Regions from separate parts of the Homo sapiens genome. Here region 2 is linked to region 1. The links are contacts of gene promoters, found by promoter capture Hi-C in human tissues and cell types (Jung and others, 2019). All regions are on one chromosome and are shown on one strand. Each heading gives the region's core, a stretch centred on a gene start or on the middle of the fragment in contact. The rest is flanking DNA. Distances are from core to core; before and after follow the strand shown. Region 1 holds the start of ARF4 (ARF GTPase 4). Region 2 has its middle 55 kb from the start of FLNB.

Region 1 (5,654 bases), core at 2,334-4,833:
CTCTTCTGGGTTTGTATTGATGAAAGGTGAATAGAAAAATATTTTATTTTTAAAATATTTTTTAAAATAGAAATGGCATCTCACTATATTGCCAAGGCTGGTCTGGAACTTCTGGGCTCAAGTGAGTCTCCCATCTTGGCCTCCCAACATGCTGGGATTACAGGTGTGAGCCACCATGCCTGACCTAGAAAAATAAAATAAAATAAAAATAAATTTGGGGTCTGGGCACGGTGGCTCACACCTCTACTACCAACACTTTGGGAGGCCAAGGCGAGTAGATCGCCTGAGCTCAGCAGCTGGATACCAGCTTGGGCAACATGCTGGTCTCTACAAAACGCCAACTCTACCAAAAATACATAAAATAGCTGGGCATGGTGGAATATGTCTGTGGTCCCAGCTACTTGGGAGGCTGAGGCAGGAGGAAAAAGGGAGGGGAGGGGAAGGGAGAGGAGGGAAAAGGGAAGGGAAAAGGGAACAGAAGGGGGAAGGGAGGGGAAAAGGGAAAGGAAAGGAAGGGGAGGGAAGGATGAAGGAAAGAAAAGAAAGAGAAAGAAAGAAAAGAAAGGAAAGAAAGAAAAAGAAAAGAGAAAAGAAAAGAATTTGGCCGGGAACAGTGGCTCAGGCCCATAATCCCAGTACTTTGGGAGGCCAAGGCAGACAGATTGGTTGAGCTCAGGAGTTTGAGACCAGCCTTGGCAACATAGCAAAACCCTGTCTCTACAAAAAATAACACTACTTAGCCAATGTGGTGGTGTACCTGTAGTCCCAGCTACTTTGGGGGCTGAGGTGGGAGGATCACTTGATCCCAGGAGGTTGAGTAAGCCGAGATGATGCCACTGTACTTCAGCTTGGGTGACAAAGTGAGACCCTGTCTCAAATAAATAAATAAATAAATGTAAGAAGGTAGTATAGTGTAGTGGTTAAGAGTGTTAATGGCTGGGTGCACTGGCTCACACCTGTAATCCCAACACTTTGGAGGCTGAGGTGGAAGGATTGCTTGGGCCCAGGAGTTCCAGACAGGCCTGGGCAACATAGCCAGAATCCACTTATTTATTAAAAAAAAAAAAAAAAAAAGAGTGTAAATACCAGTTAATACCAGAAGAAATGGGTTCTTATAGCTGTTCCACTGCTTTTAGCTGTGTGACCTTGGGCAGAATATTTAATCTCTCTGACCCTGATTATTTTTATCTGTACAATAGAGATATTACAGTCTGCCATTAACATCCTGTTTTGTAATTTACATTAGCCACTTGATGTGTAGTGTATTCTTACTGAAAAATCTGTTTTGACAACTTTTGTTTTGGTTCAGGTTTTGGAGGCTAGAGATGGAGAACAGAATTCTTTCGATTTATTTTGCATAACTAAACAGAAAACATGGATTAAGATTTGGAATAAGTTACAGGGAGGAGGGCTCATACGGTTTGTCTTTTGAATTTAAGAAGACCCTAAGAATTAGTTGAAGATTGTTTTAAGGAATTCTACTATATAAAACTAAAAACAGACATAAGGCCTAAAGTGTGAAAGGAAAATAAATCTTGGGGCCTCCACCTCACTAAGCTAAAGAGAAAAGTCAAGCTGGGAACTGCTTAGGGCCAACCTGCCTCCCATTCTTTAAAAAGTCACCCCTCTGCTCACTGAGATAAACGCATATCTGACTGCCTCCTTTGGAGAGGCTAATCAGAAACTCAAAGGAATGCAACCATTTGTCTCTTATCTATCTATGCCCTGGAAGCTCCCTCCCCACTCAGAGTCTTCCTGCCTTTGCTTTGAGTTGTCCAGTCTTTCCAGAATGAACCAATGTTCATCTTACATATATTGATTGATGTCTCATTTCTCCCTAGAATGTATAAAACCAAACCGTGCTCTGATCACCTTGGGCACATGTCTACAAGACCTCCTGAGGCTATGTCATGGACGCGTGTCCTCAACTTTGGCAAAATTAACTTTCTAAATTAACTGAGGCCTGTCTCATATTTTGGGGGTTCACAAAAGGATACAAGAAGGTCTTGTCACTTAGCAAGCTTCCAAAATGCAATTTTGAGTTATTCAACTGCTAAGCAACTCTTTACATGTATCTCCAATGCAAAGGAGGGTACTTCTGAGTAAAGAAGTTTTTGGGGTTTTTTTGTTGTTGTTGTTTGTTTTTTTAAGACAGTCTCGCTCTGTCGCCCAGGCTGGAGTGCAGGGGCGCGATCTCCGCTCACTGCAACCTCCGCCTCCCGGGTTCACGCCATTCTTCTGCCTCAGCCTCCGGAGTAGCTGGGAGTATAGGCACCCGCCACCACGCCCGGTTAATTTATTCTATTTTTAGTAGAGACTGGGTTTCACCGTGTTAGCCAGGATGGTCTCGATCTCCTGACCTCGTAATCTGCCCGCCTCGGCCTCCCAAAGTGCTGGGATTACAGGCATGAGCCACTATGCCCGGCCAGAAGTTTTTGCTTTTAATTGCCCAGGGCCACTCCTAAGAAATAACAGTCTCTGAAGGGTAGATAAGGTAGTGCTACCAAGAGAAGCGTTACTCAGCAAGCCTTCAAAAATATAAAAATAACTTACTGTTTCTGAAAGTTTGCAAGTTTTTCTTATTCAACCCCATCCTATGGAAATATACCAGTTGGAATAAGCAACTACAGAACCACATAGGACGGCACTACTAGAAAAATAGATTAAATCTTTATCCTGGCAATGAGTCTAATACATTTATCATTGCTGTGAATTTTAAAAGGTGTAGCAGGCCGGGCGCGGTGAGTCACCGCGCCAGGCCCGATCATAAACACTTTTAAAGTGAAGAGGCTTTCCGCTTCCTCAACATAAGGAGTAAATCTTTAATGCTGCTTCTAGGAAAAAAAGTACAAGAAAAGCAAGACTTCCTCCTTGCCTTCTCTTTAAAAAGCAACAGCCGATGAACACGTGTTGGAGCGCTCTCGCCTTGACAGAATTAGAGATCTTCAGAATCACTTGGCGTGGTGGTCGAAGCGTCTAGCCCTAGCTCATTAGGGTGCCACAGTTTCTCGGCCCACAAGTCAGCTTTTAACCACTTTTCTCCGCAAAAGACCGGACCGGTCTTCATGCGTCAACTAAAGCAAGCGTCTGGTCCCGTGTGTGAAACGTGTAAGTTCATGGCATCAGGGAATACCCATCGCGCGTACCGTAATAGAAGAGGGCGAGGTTCCTCACCTAACCCATAATGCTCAGCTCGCCTTTCCGGAAGCAAGGACTATCACCCCGACAATACCTTCATCCGGGCGGAAGCGTCTCACCCTGAGTCTGATTTGGCAGTGACGAAGCGAGGTATTGTGGGACTTTGTCCGTCTCCCAGTACGCATGTGCCTCAGCCGGCCTCTCCCGGCTCCTGGGGCCACGTCCGGGCGGTGGCGCCGTCGAGAGATGCTCGTCAGCGAAACTGGCCAATCCCCTGCAGGCGCAAGCGCAGTGGCTCGGGCGCACCGGAAGCGCAGGGGGATGGGGCGGCGGTGACGCGATTCTGTCCGCGTTGGAGGGGCCGGGCCGCTGCTGGAGTCGCCGCGGCCGCCGCGTGACGTGGCACAGCCAGAGCCTAAAGGCTAGAGCCGGAGCTGCCGCGCCAGTCGCCTAGCAGGTCCTCTACCGGCTTATTCCTGTGCCGGATCTTCATCGGCACAGGGGCCACTGAGACGTTTCTGCCTCCCTCTTTCTTCCTCCGCTCTTTCTCTTCCCTCTCGTTTAGTTTGCCTGGGAGCTTGAAAGGAGAAAGCACGGGGTCGCCCCAAACCCCTTCTGCTTCTGCCCATCACAAGTGCCACTACCGCCATGGGCCTCACTATCTCCTCCCTCTTCTCCCGACTATTTGGCAAGAAGCAGATGCGCATTTTGATGGGTGAGTGAGGGGCTGCGAGTCAGGCGGGACCTGGGAAAGGCAGGGTCTCCACAATTGGGGTGGCCTCTGGGCCTGTTTTTTTCCTCCGCCCGCTGTGGTGGGGGAGGGGCGCCGGGTCGGGGGTCGGAAGGAATTCTTAAGGGGGAACAATGGAGCGGAGGGTGAGCGATCCCCCCCGCCCCCGATCTGTCGCCAGACGAGACAGGGACAGGGCTTCGGGCAAGATTTCTTTCTGGACTCGGCTTTTTCTCCTTGATCTTATTGAAAGCTGGACAACATTGGGCAGAGATGTGGGGAAAGCCAACTCTGGGAAGCAAACACTTGGCGAGGCCCTTTCTGGGGGTGCGATCTGCATACCTTCTTGCCCGGGTGTGGACAGCGGTCAGGAGGGAGGCAGAGCAACTCCAGCCTTTTCCCTCCCCTTCTGCGTTTCGTGTACAGTCCCTGCATACTCCATTGGTATGTAAGCCAGCGGCCACCCGGAGCCTGGAGCCGCCCGGGGCAGGAAGTTGCGGTGGCCAGGGAGCACCCAAGGTTTCCGAAGAGTCTGGAGTCCTTCAGCGCTCACTTTGCTAAACTTGGCCTTGCGCTGGATTCCGTTTCAAGTTTTTCGCTCCTTGTTAATCTCATTCTCCGAAAACTGAGCTTATCTTCTATTTCTTTGACTATTTTCAAAAACTTTAAATGTGTTTGGTTTATTCTCCTAGGTTTTTAAGCTTATTTTTAGGCGGTCTAAGGTCTAATGCAAAAAAATTTTAGAAACGAATTTTTAAAAAATACCTGATAAATTTTCAAGTAACTGAACATCATGACGCTGAATTTTATGGTAGTCTTGTTAAATAGTAACTACAATTTTTTTAAAATTTCTTTTTAGAAAGTTGACTTTTTAAAAACTACTTTTTAGGGGGCGTGTTTTTGCTCAGCTGAGGGAGAAGGGCTGTCAGTTGGCTGAAGTAAGCAACCGCTCCCGGTTACTGTAAGCAGTCTACATCACAGCTGAGCTCCATGGACTAGAATAACGCTGAAAGAAGCCCCTCTAACTTTGAACGTTGAAACTTGTTGGTTCATTAGCTTGTTTTCTACCGGAGGAGGTTTTATTTTTCTCTTCCTTTTTTTTTTTTGCAGACGGAGTTTTGCTCTTGTCACCCAGGCTGGAGTGCAGTGGCGCAATCTCGGCTCACTGCAACCTCCACCTCCCGGGTTCAAGAGATTCTCCTGCCTCAGCCTCCCGAGTAGCTGGGATTACAGGCATGCAACACCACGCCTGGCTAATTTTTTGTATTATTAGTAGAGACGGGGGTTTCACCACGTTGGCCAGTCTGGTCTCGAACTCCTCACCTCAGGTGATCCACCCACCCAGGCTTCCCAGAGTGCTGGGATTACAGGCGTGAGCCACCGCGCCCGGCCGGAGGTTTTATTTTAGAGCTGTACTACCATCAAAACTTGCAAACACAAGCTTCTGTAATATTTCAAGGTATATAAAGAGTAACAGTATATACATTGGCTCATGTTTATTTTCCTCTTAGCGTACTTACACTTTGTGAATCAATTGTTTATGAGTCATTCATAAAGTATTTTTTCTTTCAAAGTTTCTTAGATTTCCTTTGTCAAGAGGACAGAATTATTTTAGGAGGGCAAGCATATTTAAGTTTTCAGTGGCTGAAAGTTGGCAGTCTGAAAAAGGATCGGAAGTTAATGGGAGGACTTCGGACTGTGATAAATGAATTTCCAGTCTGTTCGTTAAAGAGATTTAACAATATATGGTTATGTTCCAGAACACATAGTATATTGGTCTTTTTAC
Region 2 (5,654 bases), core at 2,088-4,587, 360 kb before region 1:
GGTGCCTGGTATGACCTGAAGGTCCAATGCACCTTTGGAGCCGGGCACAGAAACCACAGCAGAGGCTCCATCACCCTGGCATCCCTCATCTCCTCCAAAAGCATCGGGGTATCACAGATGGGGAAACCAAGGCCCAAAGAGGATATGAATCTACCCTAGGTCACATAAAGGCCATGGCTTCCAATTCAGCTCCCCTACCTCTTCTTTTTCAAGTTCAGAATCACTGAGGATGTCCTATAAAGTACCTAAAAGACAGTAATCTCTCACTGATTGTGGTTTTAAGAGAATTCATTTTATATGTACAGTCATGCATTGCTTAACAACAAGGATAAATTCTGAGAAATGTGTCATTAGGTGATTTCACCATTGTGTGAACATCATAGAGGGCACTTACACAAACCTAGATGGTCTAGCCTACTACACCCCTAGGCTAAATGGTGTAGTCTATTTCTCCTAGGCTACAGATCTGTATAGCATGTTACTGTACTGGATACTGTAGGCAACTGTAACACAATGGTAAGTAATTGTATATTTAAACATCTAAACATAGAAAGGGTAAAATAAAAATATAGTATTATAATTTTGTGGGATCACCGTGGCAGGTGAGATATGTCGTCAACTGAAACATTTTTTTGTTGTTGTTTGTTTGTTTGTTTGTTTTTTAGTAGAGATGGGGTTTCATCATGTTGGCCAGGCTGGTCTTGAACTCCTGGCCTCAAGTGATCCTCTAGCCTCGGCCTCCCAGAGTGCTGGGATTACAGGCATCAGCCACTGTGCTGGCTCCATTTTTTTTTTCTTTTTTTTTTTGGAGACGGGTTTCACTCTTGTCACCCAGGCTGGAGTGCAGTGGTGCAATCTTGGCTCACTGAAACCTCCGCCTCCCGGGTTCAAGCGATTCTCCTGCCTCAGCCTCCCAAGTAGCTGGGATTACAGGCATGCACCACCATGCCTGGCTACTTTTTGTATTTTTAGTAGAGATGAGGTTTCACCATGTTGCCCAGGCTGGTCTCAAACTCCTGACCTCAAGTGATCTGCTGGCTTTGGCCTCCCAAAGTGTTGGGATTACAGGCATGAGCCACTGTGCCCAGCCTGTTTTGTTTGGTTTGGTTTGTTTTTTTGTTTTTTTGAGACGGAGTCTCACTGTCTCCCAGGCTGGAGTACAGTGGCACTATGTTGGCTCACTGCAACCTCAGAATCCTTGGTTCAAGCAATTCTCCTGCCTCAGCCTCCCAAGTAGCTGAGATTACAGGCACCTGCCACCATGCCCGGCTAATTTTTGTATTTTTAGTAGAGGCAGGGTTTTACCATCTTAGCCAGGCTGGTCTCTAACTCCTGGTCTCAAGTGATCCACCAGCCTCAGCCTCCAAAATTGCTGGGATTACAGGTGTGAACCACTGCGCTGTCTGAAACATTGTTATATGGCACATAACTGCATATGTACATTTTTTTAATCTTTATTTTTTGAGACAGTCTCACTCTGTCACCCAGGCTGGACTGCAGCAGCACCATCCTGGCTCACTTGCAATCTCTGCCTCCCAGGTTCAAGCGATTCTCCTGCCTCAGCCTCTGAGTAACTAGGATTATAGGTGTGCACCACCACATCCGGCTAATTTTTGTATTTTCAGTAGAGATGGAGTTTCACCGTGTTGGCCAGGCTGGTCTGGAATTTCTGAGTTCAAATGATCTGCCCAACTTGGCCTCCCAAAGTGCTGGGATTACAGGTGTGAGCCACTGCACAATCACAGCTAACTACAGCCTCAAACTCCTGGGCTCAAGCCATTCTCCTGCCTCAGGCCCACAAGTAGCTGGGACTACAGGCATTCACCACTACACCCGGCTATATATATTTTTTAATCTTTTGTAGAGATGGGGTTTTGCCATATTGCCCAGGCTGGTCTGAAACTCCTGGGCTCAAGTGATCCACCCGCCTCAGCCTCCCAAAGTTCTGGGATTACAAGTTCAATCCACTGTGCCCCAACTATATACGTTTTAAGTAGCTTTATTGAAGAATCATTTGCATGCCATACGATTCACCCATAATAAGTGTATTGTTCAACAAGTTTTAGTAAATTTACACACTAGTGCAACCACCACTACAAACTAGTTTTCAAACATGTCCATTTTGTCATTTGCCCATCTGCAGTCAACCCCAGCTCCAGGCAAACAATGGTCTGCTTTTTGTCTCCATAATTATGCCTTTCCTAGAAATCTCCACTCCCTTAAAGAAAAGCAAAAGCAACAAAACAAAACAAAACAGAAAGATGGCCAGGTGTGGTGGCTCACACCTGTAATCCCAGCACTTTGGGAGGCCAATGTGAGCAGATCACCTGACGTTAGGAGTTTGAGACCAGCCTGGACAACATGGTGAAACCCCACCTCTACAAAAATACAAAAATTAGCCAAGCGTGATGGTGGGCGCCTGTAATTCCAGCTACTCAGGAGGCTGAGGCAGAATAATTGCCTGAGCCCTGGAGGTGGAGGTTGCAGTGAGCGGAGATGGTGCTGCTGTGGTCCAGCCTGGGTGACAGAGCAAGACTGTCTCAAAAAAATAAAGATAAAAAAATAAGTAAAACATACATATACAGTTATGTGCCATATAACAATGTTTCAGGCCGGGCACGGTGGCTCATGCCTGTAATCCCAGCACTTTGGGAGGCCGAGGCAGGTGGATCACTTGAGGCCAGGAGTTCAAGACCAGCCTGGCCAACACGGTGAAACCCCGTGGAGACTTCATCAAAACAAAACAAAACAAAACAAAAAACAAAAAGAAGCCTTGTTCTCTTCCAGGCCTGAAAAGGGGAAGACTCAAAGTCAGGGAGGGTGTGTCTGAAAAGGGGCCTAGAGAGTCCGGGCCTGACCCCTCCTGGTTCAACGCAGAGCACTCTCAGATGCACTTAGGGTCAGGCTTGGGCAGGGAATGGCTGCAGCGGTCCCACCAGCCTCTACCTTTATTCTACAGACAATAATGTCAAAAGCAGCTGCAGCAGCAGCAACAGTCACCACTCAGGGCCTGGCCTGGCCTGGCCAGGCCATGTGCGGTCCACCTGAGAATGGAGAAGTCTGGACGCAGATGACAGGAGCCCCTCGCTTCCCAAAGATCAACGTGCAAGGCACTTCCTAAGTGCTGACAGTCTTGCTCCACCCAGCAGGGATGTGGAAGGCCAGACCTGGTGTCTGCTTAGGCCTCTAACCTCAGGGAGGCCTTCTGTTTCTCACCAAGCCAGCTCTAGTTCTAGCTGGAAAGGCTGTTGTTCCCAACTTTTGTTTCTGGGCCTCTAACTGCCCTGTCAAGCTTACCCTGGGTTATGAGTGTTCATAAAGGAAACTGCCACCTGCGTCAACTCAAAAGTGACTGAGAAATTACCTTCCAAACTAGACCCAGGATGAGGAGCTAGGAAAGAGCTCATTCACAAAAGCAGGGCAAGTTGGGAAGTGGGGACAGGAAGCAGGGCTGGCCTCTGCCTACAAGTCACCTGGGCATGTGACCATCAGAGAGGCTTCCTTTATCCTAATCAGGAACTGCCCTTGCCCTGTTTTCTGGGGACTGGAAATTTTCCAGCGTGTCCATCAGGAACAGCCTATCTCACCAAAAAAGCGGCAAAGCTGTGTCTGCAGGTGAGAGTGATTCGGATAATCATCATCATCGTCAGCAGGAAACATTTATTCAGAGCTTCCCATATGCTGCTCTAAGCACTCTCTGATAGGCTGTGTACCATTATCACCCCCATTTCACAGATGAGGTAACTGAGGCCCAGAGAGGTGAAGAAATGTCAGGAGTCACACACAGTGGCGGACAGAATTGGGAACTGAATCCTGGAAGTTGATTCCAAGGTCTCTCTTTATACCCTACATGGTACTGACTTCGGAGGTGGAGATGCCCTGTCTTTCACTGAGCCTTCACTGGCTGACACTGAATCCCAGAATGCTGGGGACAGATCAAAGCTGACATCAACGTTGCCTGTTGCTCTGTTCTTTCCAGCACCCCAAATGCCCCTATCAAGCCAGGGGTCTGTGGTGCTGAGTAATGAGAAATGAGTTTGGTAATGTAGGTGTTAAAAGTTGAGTTGTGTCCCCAGCAAAAAGATATGTTTAAGTCCTAATTCCCCAGTACCTGAGAATGTGACTTTATTTGGAAATAGAGACTTTGCAGATGTAATCAAGTTAAAATGAGGTCATACTAGATTAAGATGGCTCTAAATCCAATCACTGGTGTCCTTATAAGGAGAGAGTTGGAGCCTACAGATACACAAGGAAGATGGCCATGTGACCACAGAGGCGGAGACTGGAGTGATGCTGCTGCAGGCCAAGAATGCCGAGGACTGCCCGCAACCATCAGGAGCTGGGGGAGAGGCATGGACAGATTCCCTCCAGTGCCTCTCAGAGGAGCCAGCCTTTCCGACACCTTGATTTTGGACTTCTGTCCTCATGAACTGCAGAAGAATGGATTTCTGCTGTTCTAAGCCACTTAGTTGGCGGTAATTTCTTATGGCAGCCCTAGCAAACTAAAAGAGCCACTTTTTCAAATCATCTCTTAAACCAGCTTTGTCCTTTTGTTGGTTTCCTTGTTAATGAATTAAATCAATCTTTGACATGTGGTCACTCTATACTTGTATGAGACCCCTTCTGAAAATTATACTTTGCTGTAGCGCAGACCCAGAGCTACTATTTCAGTTTACTCTGCCAATTTGCTGGCAAGCAACGTCCTCCACCAGCCATGCATCTGTCCTAGGCACTGGGAAAATCCAGGCTGAGCCCCCAGCTCCCCCTGGATGGTGGTCCAACCAGAGCTTGGCAGGAGCAAAGAGCTTTCGCAGCTTGGGCTGTTTTTAGCAGCTGGAGGGGCAGAGGCAGCCTGGCAACAGAAAGCTGAGAGGTGGAGGGCAAGGGGAAGTGTGACCTTTTCAAACCTAGCCACATTCGAGGAGTGGAGCAGAGAAAATACTCGTAAATCCATATCTGACATGCTGGGTGCTGAGGCTCAGTGACATGAAGCAGGCGGCCAAACAGCCCACTGAGGACAGTGAGGTCATCTTGAGGCTGAGTCACTCAGATTGGCAGAGCAGTGTGTGCATGGAGGAAGTCAGTTTCCTTTGCACCAGACAGAGCGGGATTCGCAGGGTGGGCCTCAGAGCCCGGGCCTCAGCCCTTTTGCCCTTTGATTCCCCAGGCTTCTGGGAGGAGGCTTAGGTTCCAACCTGGCTCCTTTCTCAGGACAGCTTTAGAACTGAGGCATGTGGTGAGAAGAGGGGAGCGGGGGCTCAGCAGCTGAGTTTGAACCTCCTCTCCTTCACTTACTGAACTGCATGATCAGGAACACCAATCTGACCTTCAGTTTCCTTCCTTGCAAAATTACTCCTTTTCCATAAGTGGTAATTTTATTTGGGCTTATCATTCTCATGAGGCCTCCATGGGGTCAGGGATGAGAAAGCACAGGGTCTAGCAAGAAACTGGCACATAAACATTAAAAAAAAATTTCCTCATCTTCAAATGTGACTCCCTTGGCTTTTTTGAGGAAATCATTCTGAGCAGGAGAGTGGAATGCAAAAGCAATTTAAATAATTTTTTTCCAAAAGTGGAAAATATCTTTTTTTTTTTTCCTCTGTCTCACTCTGTTCACCACAATACAATCTCCACCTCCAGGTTCAAGCGATTCT

The links. Contacts are between HindIII fragments. The study calls those that stand out against the background at their distance.
Region 2: a contact is called between a fragment that was not itself captured here and the fragment with the promoter of ARF4 in region 1, in 1 of the 25 tissues and cell types used here (H1 embryonic stem cells).

Annotation. Positions count from the first base shown.
Region 1 is chr3:57,595,273-57,600,926 of GRCh38, reverse strand. It overlaps ARF4 (ARF GTPase 4), which reads left to right and starts at 3,583. Exons shown (of 6, transcript NM_001660.4): 1 at 3,583-3,853. The coding sequence starts at 3,787. It overlaps ARF4-AS1 (ARF4 antisense RNA 1), which reads right to left and starts at 3,138. Exons shown (of 2, transcript NR_132370.1): 1 at 2,876-3,138; 2 at 11-184. It also overlaps a transcript of PDE12 not described here. RefSeq lists enhancers at 2,560-3,265, 2,780-3,339, 3,360-3,609, 3,620-3,689, 3,880-3,929 and 4 more. The HindIII fragment of the contact is 4,316 bases long and covers 624-4,939 here.
Region 2 is chr3:57,951,001-57,956,654 of GRCh38, reverse strand. No RefSeq gene overlaps it. Among named protein-coding and RNA genes, the nearest start is that of FLNB, 55 kb to the left of the region's middle. The HindIII fragment of the contact is 8,045 bases long and covers 1-5,654 here.